2 separate regions of the Homo sapiens genome follow, and region 2 is linked to region 1. The links are contacts of gene promoters, found by promoter capture Hi-C in human tissues and cell types (Jung and others, 2019). All regions are on one chromosome and are shown on one strand. The core of a region is centred on a gene start or on the middle of the fragment in contact, and the rest is flanking DNA. Distances in the headings are between cores, read along the strand shown.

Evidence for each region. Contacts are between HindIII fragments. The study calls those that stand out against the background at their distance.
Region 2: a contact is called between a fragment that was not itself captured here and the fragment with the promoter of HCN4 in region 1, in 5 of the 25 tissues and cell types used here (IMR-90 fibroblasts, aorta, liver and 2 more).

The regions. Positions count from the first base shown.
Region 1 is chr15:73,365,499-73,372,284 of GRCh38, reverse strand. It overlaps HCN4 (hyperpolarization activated cyclic nucleotide gated potassium channel 4), which reads left to right and starts at 3,327. Exons shown (of 8, transcript NM_005477.3): 1 at 3,327-4,799. The coding sequence starts at 4,015. The HindIII fragment of the contact is 7,967 bases long and covers 1-6,786 here.
Region 2 is chr15:73,464,831-73,471,616 of GRCh38, reverse strand. All of the region lies in intron 1 of REC114 (REC114 meiotic recombination protein), which reads right to left. Among named protein-coding and RNA genes, the nearest start is that of REC114, 25 kb to the right of the region's middle. The HindIII fragment of the contact is 5,641 bases long and covers 458-6,098 here.

The sequences.
Region 1 (6,786 bases), core at 2,078-4,577:
TTGCAGGCTGTGGGAGCCACTGCCCTACCCCAGAGCTGCCTCTCCAAGCAAGAACAATGCCCTCTGCCCATAAGCAAATAAGCTTCCAGAATTTCCCATCCCCCTCTGCCCATCTAGGTCCCCCACAAATAAGGTCTGAGGTTGATTTATACAATCAGCTACATTCTCCACTTCTACTCCCAGCAGGTCTTCTAACTTTCACTGATATTCAGTGTCCGTTCCAGGGAAGGAAACCCATCCTCCCCAGTCCCCTTCTCTCTTAGACTCAGATGTTTTCTACATTTGCATTCCAGGAATATCCAGGCCCGCTGCAGCACTGCAGCAGCCCATTTGTCTCCAAAGTCCCCTAGTCCCCCACCCATGGTGAGAGCAGCAGGTCTTCTCCATATATTTCAGTCCTGAGACAGGGCCTTCCCCTTGCTGGGGTCCCCAGGGCCTGGCTACCATGTTATCAAAGGAACCAGAGCAGACCCCAGGCCTTCTAGGCAGTGCTGGAAAGGAGAGGGTGTGAGACCCAGGTGGAGCAATGGGGAGATTACAGAATGTGGGAGTCCTATTTATTCTCTCCCCATTCTTTACCTTCTCTCTCCTTCTCCTTCCTCCATCTGTGCCTGCCCCCTACCCCACCTGCATGAGCAGATGGGCAGTAGAGCACAGCCTGCCCTGTGGAGCCCTTGAATTCTAGCTTCACCATTTTCTTGCTATGGGGCATTTGGCAAGCCTCTTGACCTCTCTGTGCTTTAGTTCTCTTGCCTGCAAATGGGAGTAAGAATGTCAGGTTGACTCACGTGAAATTGCCAAAATTTGACAATATTGGGCTCACAAAAATCAAAATTTCATGTGGTTTAACAACAAAAAGGTGTAAACTGTAAAGTGTTAGATATATGTCTCTCATCAAGTCTGGCCCCCTCCTCCAGGAAACCCTCCCTAGCTACTCCAAGGCCAGCAATAGCTCCCTCTGAAATCTCTCATGGTTGGGGACATGATTTAATATACATTTCTTTCCTGTCTTCAGTTTTCCTGCTCTATTTTCATGCCCTATTCCTGAGAATGAGTCTAGCTTCCTCACAACTTGAAGCCCATCAAGGGCAAGACCTGGGGCTGCTCCTCCTCTGTCCCCTGGACTGTTGGCACACCACCAGTGTCCTCCATTAGGGTTTCCACATAAAGGAGGCAGGAGAAGCCAGATCTCATCAGGGTTTATCAAGGGCCTGATTTATCTAATAGTCATTGCTGCACCTAAAGTTGGTCCTAGATGGTCGTGAATGGGTGCCACTAATGAAATTGAGGGCGAGTGAGGTGCTGGTAGGGTGGAATTAAGAGATCCTGACCCCTGGCCGGCCTGTGGCAGCAGTATCCCAGGAAGCAGAATTTTGGTCTTATCCTCCATCTCCTCCAAGCATCCCCTCCAATGCCATTAGCTAACTTCTAGGGTCCCTCACTCATTTGTAGAGTTGAAACTTATTAATCTGCTTTCTGTCCACCCTTGTGTTGGTGGAGAGGTCCCTGAGATAAGGTGGACCTGCTCCACCCTCAGGGCACAGACTGCACTGTGTAATCAGTGCTCAGGGTCACAGGAGCTAATGGGCCATGGGAACCAAAGGCAGGGACATGACCAAGGTTTTGGTGATTAGGAAAGGGTTCCCAGAGGAGGAGATGTCTCTACCATAGGTCATGGGGAAGCCTATATGGGCTGACTTCCTGAGCGGGGTTAAGGCAGACTAACTCCCAGCTAGACAAAGAAGCTCAAAGAAGTGTGTTAAATGGAGGTCTTCCCTCCTGTGGCTGGTAGACCAGGGCAGGCTGGGCTCACAGCTCTTTAAGAACACTTCTTCTCAAGGAGACCCAAGGACACTCAGGGATTAGGCTTCCAGCATCTGTGCAGAGAACTGTCAGCTCAGAGCTGCTCAAAAGTAAAAATGCCAGCTACCAGTGATGTCATCACCCTAGTCATTCCTCTCACTGTGGGAGGTCCTGTGGTCCAGTGGGTAGAGCAGAAGAGCCCCTGCTAGGCTGCCCGCCCCGCATCCTGCTCTCCAAATTCCTACTCTGGATGGAGGAGGCGAAAGTGGTCACATTGGGCTAAGAATGAGAGTAAAAAAATCATTTGAAGAAAAACTTGATGTTATTCCTCAGAGAGATGGCAGAGCCAGGGGACCTTTTTGCCTCCCTCCTGTGAGACTTTGCTGTGTGTCCGCTCCAGCATTAACCTCGGCTCCAGCCTTCTCTGGACAACTCCCCTCCCCTTAATGCCCAATCTGTCCCCCTATCCATTTCTGAGCTAATCTGGGGTATCAGGCTGTCCATGGTGTTGGAGGGGGTAGGGCTATACCTTAGGCTGAGCTAGTGAAATCTGTCCATAAGCCCGGACACTGTACACTGGGAGAGACTGGGAGAGAGGACACACAGTTGGATCCTTGGCGGGGGTTGGGGGGAAGGGGGCTGGGCTGCAGACTGGAAGGGAGTGGGGGCTGTGCAGCTGCTTGGGGGTGCAGGTAGGGGACTGGGTGGAACAGGAACTCACCCAGCGTGGGTCCACATAGTAGGTGTCATAATGTGGATGGGAACACAGGGAGAAGGGGCTCCAAAGCCAGTTCCAGAGTGCTGGGGCGTCCGAGGAACCGGCCCAACCGCTCCCCGCTGCAGCCGGCTTGTCCCTTTCTCGGAACTACCGAGGGAGAGGCGCGTGCGGAGGTCGGCGTTCGGATCTCGCATCCGTCACTGTTGCCGGCGCATTTCCTCGAAGTCTTACCTCGAAGGGCTGGGTCCCACCCGCGCGCCCTGTGCGTGTCTCCCTGTTTCCCCACGCCCTCCTTGCCTGGCTGCTGCGAGGCTTTGCAGGGGAAAGACTGGCGCGGGGTTCGCACCCTGCCCATGTCACAGGAAAACCGTGGGAGCCTCCCCGACGCGGCGCATTTCCGGAAGCCCCCTCTCCAGGAGGGTTGCGGGAAGGCCGGGACTCTGCATCCAGACGAACCCGGTCGCCTCCCAAGAGGAAAGTCGGAGACCCAGCTGAGGGGCAAAAATGCCAGGGAAAGGCGAGCCCAGAGCTTGGTGATGGAGAAATTGGGAAGCCACCCCCCACCCTTCAATCTTAGGATGGGGAATTCGCAACTGAAGCCGGAGCTTCAGACTTGGGGCGCACTCCCAGCTTAGCCCAGGAAAGAGATTTAAGGGCGCAGCAGTGTGGATACCTCTCACCCCGGCCCCGAAGGTCTAGCGAGGGTCTAACCTGGGCCCCTTGCCAGGCCCGCCCCCCGCCCCTTTCCAGCCCCCGGCCCGTGCGCCGCTGCCCCTTTAAGAAGCCCAGGTAGGCAGGCCCGGCTGCTGGAGCCGCTCCTATGGCAACCCGCGAGCTGCGGCGGCTTCATGAATATTCCGGGGCGCGGGAGCCCGAGCGCTGCCGGAGGGCGCTTCGGGGGAGGCGGCCGCTGATGTAAGCCCGGCGGGTCGCTGGGCTCCGCTCGGTTGCGGCGGGAGCCCCGGGACGGGCCGGACGGGCCGGGGCAGAGGAGGCGAGGCGAGCTCGCGGGTGGCCAGCCACAAAGCCCGGGCGGCGAGACAGACGGACAGCCAGCCCTCCCGCGGGACGCACGCCCGGGACCCGCGCGGGCCGTGCGCTCTGCACTCCGGAGCGGTTCCCTGAGCGCCGCGGCCGCAGAGCCTCTCCGGCCGGCGCCCATTGTTCCCCGCGGGGGCGGGGCGCCTGGAGCCGGGCGGCGCGCCGCGCCCCTGAACGCCAGAGGGAGGGAGGGAGGCAAGAAGGGAGCGCGGGGTCCCCGCGCCCAGCCGGGCCCGGGAGGAGGTGTAGCGCGGCGAGCCCGGGGACTCGGAGCGGGACTAGGATCCTCCCCGCGGCGCGCAGCCTGCCCAAGCATGGGCGCCTGAGGCTGCCCCCACGCCGGCGGCAAAGGACGCGTCCCCACGGGCGGACTGACCGGCGGGCGGACCTGGAGCCCGTCCGCGGCGCCGCGCTCCTGCCCCCGGCCCGGTCCGACCCCGGCCCCTGGCGCCATGGACAAGCTGCCGCCGTCCATGCGCAAGCGGCTCTACAGCCTCCCGCAGCAGGTGGGGGCCAAGGCGTGGATCATGGACGAGGAAGAGGACGCCGAGGAGGAGGGGGCCGGGGGCCGCCAAGACCCCAGCCGCAGGAGCATCCGGCTGCGGCCACTGCCCTCGCCCTCCCCCTCGGCGGCCGCGGGTGGCACGGAGTCCCGGAGCTCGGCCCTCGGGGCAGCGGACAGCGAAGGGCCGGCCCGCGGCGCGGGCAAGTCCAGCACGAACGGCGACTGCAGGCGCTTCCGCGGGAGCCTGGCCTCGCTGGGCAGCCGGGGCGGCGGCAGCGGCGGCACGGGGAGCGGCAGCAGTCACGGACACCTGCATGACTCCGCGGAGGAGCGGCGGCTCATCGCCGAGGGCGACGCGTCCCCCGGCGAGGACAGGACGCCCCCAGGCCTGGCGGCCGAGCCCGAGCGCCCCGGCGCCTCGGCGCAGCCCGCAGCCTCGCCGCCGCCGCCCCAGCAGCCACCGCAGCCGGCCTCCGCCTCCTGCGAGCAGCCCTCGGTGGACACCGCTATCAAAGTGGAGGGAGGCGCGGCTGCCGGCGACCAGATCCTCCCGGAGGCCGAGGTGCGCCTGGGCCAGGCCGGCTTCATGCAGCGCCAGTTCGGGGCCATGCTCCAACCCGGGGTCAACAAATTCTCCCTAAGGATGTTCGGCAGCCAGAAAGCCGTGGAGCGCGAACAGGAGAGGGTCAAGTCGGCCGGATTTTGGATTATCCACCCCTACAGTGACTTCAGGTAAGGGGCCACAGCGATGATCCTGTGGGTGCCCTGCGCGGTGGCAGGCATGCCTCCTCCTGACCCTGCCTCCCAGCCGGAGTTAACTTTCCTGCCTTGCGCTGGGAGCTCCAAGAGAGGCAGGGCGCCTCTAGGCTCCGAGACACCCCCAGGCCCCCTCCTGCACCGCGCTGGGGGAACTTTCCTCTGGGTTCAGTCACTGGTCTTCTCGGGTCTGGGCTGCATTGGAGACAGAATGAAAAGGTGTTCTGAGCCTGGCCTACCCCTGCCGGCAGCCAGGATAGGGCTCTGCCACCTTAAGCCACATATTCCTCCTCCCCCTTCAAGGCTGCAGAGTCAGGATGGCCATCCTAGAGGCAGCTCCGGGTCATTCAGCCTGCAGAGCAGGGCCGTGAAGAGAGACAGACCTCTTAGCAACGGGCCAGCTCCTTGGGTGCTGACAGCAGGCATTTATGTCTGCTTTCTGGTGCCCTGGGAAGCTGCGGCCGGGTCCCTGGAGGACCGAAGTCACTGGGGCCTCAGGCCGGGATGAAAACCCCCTGCACCCACCGTAACCCTGAGCTCAGCTCCTCATGCTGAGTGGTGGGCCAAGAGCAGGCACCCTGGGCAGCTGGCATCCAGAGCGGCAGGGCTGAATGACCTTGCTCATAGTGATGGGTGAAGATGCCTGGTGTTCTGACTGATGAGCAGCTGTCCTGTGTCCCATGCTTGTCCAGTGGCCCATCCATACCCCAGAGACCCAAGCTCCAGCATCTGCTTGGTCTCTCATGGGCCACTCGTGGGTCCCCAAACAAGGTATGACTGCCAGTCAGGGAGAGGGACCCTGCCCCCTTCCACATCACTTGAGTCGGATGCCACTGAACAGCAGATACCACTGGGAGCTTGTGGGCATATTTGTGCAAAAAGAGGGATTGTTGGTTGTTTCTAGGGTTGGGATCAGGGATGCCTTTACCTAAGTCAAGGTCCTAAGGTTCCCTAGTGCCCCTCTGGGCTTTCGTGATGCATGAGATTGTGATGAAGGTCTGGGAAACACTTTTCAAGCTGGGTTTAATTCTCTCATTCTCTCTTTCTCTGGGCCCTGCCGCCTACTTATCTCCCTTCCTTGCCTACCTTAGTTGCCTGCCTATAAAAATGAGCATTTTGCCAACCCAGAGCCCTCTTTGCAAACTCCAGGGAAGCTGGGTTTGTAATGAGAGCAAAGCCATTTTCCATCCAATGAGAGAGATTTCTCGCACTGGGAATGACCAGTCAGACAACACTCGGTGGCTTAAAATAGGTAGTGAACAGAGCCCCTCCCCCCTTTTTTCCTTTGACAGACTGCTCTTCCTAACCCTAATATCTCCAGGGTTCCCATTCCCAGAAGACTAGGGAGACCAGAGGGCAGGCTAAACAGACAGCCATAGTCATCAAATTGTGTGAGCAAATGTGGGACCCTCCCATCAGGAACGGTGTCTGGGTTCCCAGTGCCAGGTTCCTGAAGAGTGGGCTTGCCTCTGGCCAGTACTGGGCCCTGAGGATCCTGGGCCGAGCTAGAGAGGAGTGAGCAGGGGCTATGTCTCCTCCACCCCCATGGGTGTCCTGGGTTTTTCCTCCTGTCTCTCAACTCTTCAGTGGTGGTGATAGGCAGTTCCAGTACCAACCCCTCGAGATTGCTGAAGGGCCCTCCCCTCCCTTGCCCAGGTCCCTGCTGTTTTTGTTGTCAGAAAGCATCTGTTCAGGGTTCTCATCACCAAGCCCATTGCCTGGGGAGCCTACAAGAGGCCAACCCCAGGCATGCCCAGCCTCCCTCAGCAGCAAGCATTGGCCGGGGACCTTCTGGATGCTGGGCCTGGCCCTTCCTATCTCCCTTACCTTAGAAGTTGGAGAGTGAGGACTGGGTTGATTTCATCAGATAGGATCCTTTTCCCCTTCCTGGTCTTACCCCATTCTGGTATGTCTGTCTGCAGTCCCCCTGCTGCAGAATCTCCCACTAACTGCAGGCTGCCTG
Region 2 (6,786 bases), core at 2,029-4,528, 99 kb before region 1:
CAGTTTAGACTACTCTCTTGCCCTCCAAATTGCTACATTTAATCACCCAATCAACATCTCCATGTAAAGGTTTAATAGTTATCTCAAAATTAACAGCCCCTAACTTGAACTCCTAACCTTCTCATTCACTATTTACAAAGTACCTACCCTGTGCTAGGCTGTTGTAGACATTTGACATCACAACATTTTCACCTCAGAAAATAATTTTCTTCTTTTTCAGGTTTCTATATGCAACACTTAAGAAATTAATTCTTTCCTTCCATTTCTTTGGCTAAACCATGGAATCATTCTTGACTCCTTTTCTCACACCCATATCCAATCCATCAGCAAATCCTTCATGTCTATCTTCAAAATATCCATAATTCAACCACTTCTTATAGGTCTTGTCTAAATTATCATTCTCTCTAGTTGGATTATTATAATAATCTCCTAACTGGCTTTTCAATTTCTGTTCTTGCTTCCCTTCTCCAACACAGAGTTTATTCTCAATACAGTAGCCAGAGTGATCCTTTAAAAATATAAGTCAGATCATGTCATTTCCAGCTTACAGCCCTGCAATAGCTCCCTATCTCATTCAGAAGCTCCTGCAACGCACTCCACGGTCTAGGCCCTCCACTGCCTCTCTGCTCTTGTCCTGTAGCACCCACCTACTGTGCACTCTCATCAGCCACACTAGCCTCCTTCCTGCTCCCTGAACCCACTAGGCACACTGATTATTATAAACCTCAGGGCTTCTACAATTGCTGTTCTATCTGAAATTCTCTTCTTCTAGATACCACGACTCACTCCATCTTCAAACCTTAGCTTAAATATCATGTTTTCAGGTAAAACTTTTCCTAACCATCCATCTGAAAACTCCCCCATGTTATCTAAACCACACTACTCCTATTCCCTTCTCCAGCTTTATTTTTATCCATAGCTCTTACCACTTTGTTATATTTACTTGTTACTAGTCTTCCCTGAGCAGAAATTAAGCTCCATGAAGATAGAGATTTTTTTTTCCCCGTTTTGGACACTGTTATATTCAAATGCCTAGGATAGTACCTGGCACACAATAGACACCCAATATTTTGTTGGATGGTTAAGTAAATAAGAACTTTTAAATGAAGGCACCATATTAAGATGCAAAATTTTCAAAGGAAATAAAGATGTCTTCAGAAAGAATTCATCACCAGCAGATCTGCACTGAAAGAAATGTGAAAGGAAGTCCTTCAGGAAGAAAGAAAATGTTATCAGATAAAAACTAAGATCTCCACAAAAGAATGAAGAGTGCAGGAAATAATAATTACATGGGCAAATGCATAAAAATTTTACCTAAATATCTTTAAAAGATAACTGATAAATGGGATTATATTGATAAACAATATTCAATTTATCCAAACGAAAGGCAAGATCAAAATTAAAAGGGAACAAAGAACAGATGGGAAAATTATAAAACAAATAGCAAGATAACAGACTGAAACCCAACCCTATCAATAATCATATTAAATATAATAGTACATTTAAATGTAAACACCTCAATTAAAGGCAGAGGTTGTCAGATTGGATAAAAAAGACAAAACAAGCTATATGCTGCCTACAAGAAATGCACTTTAAATATAAAAACAAACAGGTTAAAAACAAAAGGATAGAAAAAATATATACCAAGCTAATGCTAGTCAAAAGCTAGAGTAAGGCCAGGCACAGTGGCTCACTCCTACAATCTCAGCACAGGCTTGCCCTGGCTAACACAGTGAAACCCCATCTCTACTAAAAATACAAAAAATTAGCCGGGCATGGTGGCGGGCACCTGTAGTCCCAGCTACTCGGGAGGCTGAGGCAGGAGAATGGCGTGAACCCAGGAGGTGGAGCTTGCAGTGAGCCAAGATCGCGCCACTGCACTCCAGCCTGGGCAAAGGAGGGAGACGGAGTCTTAAAAAAAAAAAAAAAAAAAAAAGAGTCTAAGGCTTGCCTAAGGCCAGGAATTTGAGATCAGCCTGGGCAACATGGCAAGACTTGATCTCTACAGAAAATGTAAAAATTAGCCAGGCACGGTGGTACACGCCTGTAGTCCCAGCTGCTTGGGAGGCTGAAGCAGAAGGATCACTTGAGCTCAGGAGTTCGAGGCTGCTGTAAGCTATGATTGCACCACTGCACTCTGCACACTGCACCCAGAGGCCTGGGTAACAGAGTGAGACTCTTTCACTAAAAAGATAAAAATAAAAAATAAAAACTGGAGTGGTTTTATTAATATTAGACAAGAATATCAAAAGGTTACAAAGAAGGTCATTTCAAATAATAAAAGGGTCAATTAATCAAGAAAGATAATCATCCCAAACATGTATTCCTCCAATACAGAGCTTAAAAATACACGAAGCAGTAAGTGATAGAACTGTAAGGGGAAACAGACAAGTTCACAATTACAGTCAGATTTTAATACCCCTCTCTCAATAACTGATAGAAAAAGCACATAGCAAATCACCAAGTATATAGCAGACTTGAGCAACTGTCAACCAACATGATTGATCGACATTTATTGAACACTCCATCTAACACCAACACAAAACACATTCTTCTCAAGTATACACAGAGCATTCACAAAGACTATATTCTAAGCCACAGAACAAGTTCTGGTTGATTTAAGAGAATGTTACCTGAGCACAGATGAATTAAATTAGAAATCAAAAACAGGTCTCTGAAAAAAAGCCCCAAATATTCTTATTTACTCATGGGTAAATAAGAAATTAAAAGGGAAATCAGAAATATTGTGAACTCAAAGTTATTCACCATGTTAACATATTAAAAAAGAAAAACCATATGATCACCTCAATATGAGAGAATGCAGAAAAAACATTTGACAAAATCCAACATCTATTCCTGATTTTAAAACTCAGCAAACCAGGAATAGAAGTAACTTCCTCAAGCTGATAAAGGGCATCTATTAAAAAAAAAAAAAAAACTACAGCTAACTTCATACTGAAAGCTTTCTCCCTAAGATAAGAAACAAGACAAGATGTCCACTTTCACCACTTCTATTCAACATTGTTACCGCAAGTTCTTACCACTGTAATCAGACAGGAAAAAGAATGAAAAAGCATCCAGATTGGAAAGAAGTAAAACTGTCTTTATTCACAGACAACATGATCATCTATGTAGAAAATCCAGTTGATTTTACTAGAATAAGTGAATTTTAGAAAGGTTACAGAATAGAAGATCAATAAATAAAAACCAATTGCATTTACATACACTAATGAAGAACTAGAACCTGAAATTTTAAAAGCATCAAAATTTACAACATCAAAAATATAAAATACTAAGGGATAAATATGACAAAAGAAGACCAGCACATTGAAAATTGAGAGAAATTTAAGAACACTTAAATATATGGAGAGAAATATTTTGTTCACAGATAGGAAGATTTAATATTATTAAAATGCTGTAATAGGCAGAACAACGGTCCCCCTAAAGATGTCTATGTCCTAATACCCGGAACCTGTAATATGTTATCTTACATAGCAAAGGGATTTTGCATATGTGATTAAGTTAAAATATCTTGAGCTGGAGGGATAGCCCTGAATTATCCAGGTGAACCTATTGTAATCAGAAGCATCCTTACAAGAGAAAGAGGGAGGCAGAAAGAGTCAGAAGGAATGTGATTGCTGGCATTGAGGATGGAAGGTGGGTAACAAACTAAGGAATGCAGGCAACCTCTACGTGTTAGAGAAGGCCAGGAAAAAAAAAAAAAGATTCTTGAGCCTCCAGAAGGAATGCAGTCCTCCTGACACTTTGATTTTAGCTCAATAAACCCATTTCAAATTTCTGACCTCTAGAACTATAAGCTAATGTTTGCGTTGTTTTAAGCCACTAAGTTTATAGCTTGTTACAGCAGCACTAAGAAATTAGTACAGACACTAATTCTCCAAGTTGATCTATCCAATCCCAATCAAAATTCCAAATTTTTCAAGAAATGCAAGAGTCCAAAGAGACTATATGCCAAGCATTTAAGTCAGTGAGTTAACAATAGCAAAGTATCCACTATGTACTGATCCCTCTTATAATATGGAGAAGAAAAAAGACATAGAAAGTCTCTGAACTTGAACTTCATTAATTCTTCATTCAACAAATATATGATTGCAGTATCACTGAACAAAACACAGATCCTAATCCTAATGGAGCAAGTGTGAAATGGTGATGCAGAGCAAGAGTACAGACAATACACAACAAATATAATTAGTGACATACCAAAGGTGGGATGTTGGGAGCAGTACACTGCAGGTGCTGGCAATAAAGCAATGCTTGGTCTGTAGAGAATTTATAAACAATTAAAAAGCTGACTAAAATCAGTTTATTACCACCATGTGCCAGTAATTCTAATCAATGTCAGTGATAAAAATACTCCTTCCTGAAAAAAACATTTTGTTGGTCTAAGTTCCAAATAATTACTGCAGTTACTGCTGAGTTTAAATAATATATATGTAAGCTTCAAAATATCAGATTTGTTATTTATTCTTAAATTGTTGTCTACATATAAGTTCATTGGGGAAACTCCCAGTTACAGCTAACCCCCATCCATGCAAACTTAGGCACATACACTTGTTTCAAAAGCAGTGCACCAGGCTTTCTTAAACCTGAAGACTGCTTAACATGAAGTTCTTAATCCAACCCTTTCTTAGGATGCAGTTGGCTTTTCCCTCCCTGTGGTACTACATTCTTGTGCATTTAAATGATAGATTCAAAATAAAACAAAGATAGCACAGTGATTGTAAAGACCAAGAAACAACTTGAGGCACTCCAATTCTGTCATTTTTATGGGACCTTTTGGTATTTGTCTAAAATTTAAAACACTGTTGCAAGTGTAAATAGCAAGATGTAACTTATTTAATAAGTGCAAATTTTAGTTCACAAAATATTTTACTAAATTTGAACAATATCTTTAACATTGAAATTTATTCTCTTCAAATTAAGTGTTTTGAAACTAAAGAACGTTAAGAGGGGATAAAACATATCAACAATTTTATTAATAGTTGCGTAAATTGTACCTTTTGGAAATGCTTAGGTTTTTGTTGTTGTTGTTTTCCTTCCCCCAGCGGGAGTCTTGCTCTGTCACCCAGGCTAGAGTGCAATGGCACCATCTTGGCTCACTGCAACCTCTGCCTCCCAGGTTCAAGTGATTCTCCTGCCTCAGCCTCCTGAGTAGCTAGGATTACAGGTGCATACCACCACACTTGGCTAATTTTTTGTATTTTTGGTAGAGATGGGGTTTCACCATGTTGGCCAGGCTGGTCTCAAACTCCTGACCTCGTGATCCACCTGCCTCAGACTCCCAAAGTGTTGGGATTACAGGCATGCACCACCGAACCCAGTCGGAAATGCTTAATTTTACTTAAAAAAACTTCACTTATTAGTTAATGAACAATTTCATAAAATATCAGTCTGTAACTGCAGAATCCAAGTTCAAACAGTTAACTAGATATAAAAACAATTGGTGGCCGGGTGCGGTGGCTCATGCCTGTAATCCCAGCACTTTGGGAGGCCGAGGTGGGCAGATCATGAGGTCAGGAGATTGAGACCAGCCTGACCAACTGGTGAAACCCCGTCTCTACTAAAAAAATGAAAAAATTAGCCAGGCGTGGTGGTGTGCACCTGTAGTCCCAGCTACTCAGGAAGCTGAGGCAGAAGAATCGCTTGAACCCGGAAGGCAGAGGTTGCAATGAGCTGAGATCGCGCCACTGCACTCCAGCCTGGGTGACAGAGCGAGACTCCGTCTCAAAATAAAATAAAATAACACAATATAAAATAAAATAAAAACAATGGGCTAAATAGTTGTGGATTTTTTTTCCTGCCTTATACTGTATTTTTCCTATTTATTTGGCATAATTATTATAACAAAACTCAGTAAGAGAGAATGTCCGCTGCATAATATTTTTCATTTAACTTGATTATTTCAGAAAATAATTTTATCATTCAGGGGAAGAAGATGTTAAAAAAATATTCATTCTAGGTGTCAGATGTTCTAGGCACATCACTGAACATAGCAAATAAAAAAATTATCTAGTATATGAGATAATGCTAAGAGCTAGGGAAGAAATAGAGCAGGACAAGTGGAATCAAAGTGCAAAGACAGGACACAGATGTTACAATATAAATAGAGAGGTTAAGGTAGGCATCTGAGAAGGTGAGGCTTGAGCAAAGACCAAAGGTATGAAAGTTAACCAGGTAGCTGGGGGAGGAGAATTCCAGGCTTATGATTTTTCAGATGTCTGTTGCAATCCCTCATCCAAAAGGTCTACATAATGTGCTCATATAGTTAGAAAATATCCATTTTAAGAACTTCCAAGGGGTTCAAGAAAAAATGGTAGCTTCATTGCATCCCTGAAGTCTTCTCTTTCCAAATCCAATCCAAATGCCATTTACCTTTCCTTAAGCAATTATTAAGACCAGCATCTGGCAGGGGACAGTGACTCACACCTGTAAGCCCAGCACTTTGGGAGGCCGAAGCAGGCAGATCACATGAGGTCAGGAGTTTGAAACCAGTCTGGCCAAGATGGCAAAACCCTGTCTCTACTAAAAATACAAAAATTAGCTGGGCGTGGTGGTGGGTACCTGTAATCCCAGCTACTCAGGAGGCTGAGGCAGGTGAATCTCTTGAACCTGGGAGGCAGAGGTTGCAGTGAGCTGAGATTGCAATATTGCACTCCAGACTGGGCAACACAGTGAGACTCCATCTCAAAACAAACAAACAAACAAACAAAAAACACATCATCCAAGACAGCCAGAAGGGTGGATTGAGGTCTCAGGGTCCACAAA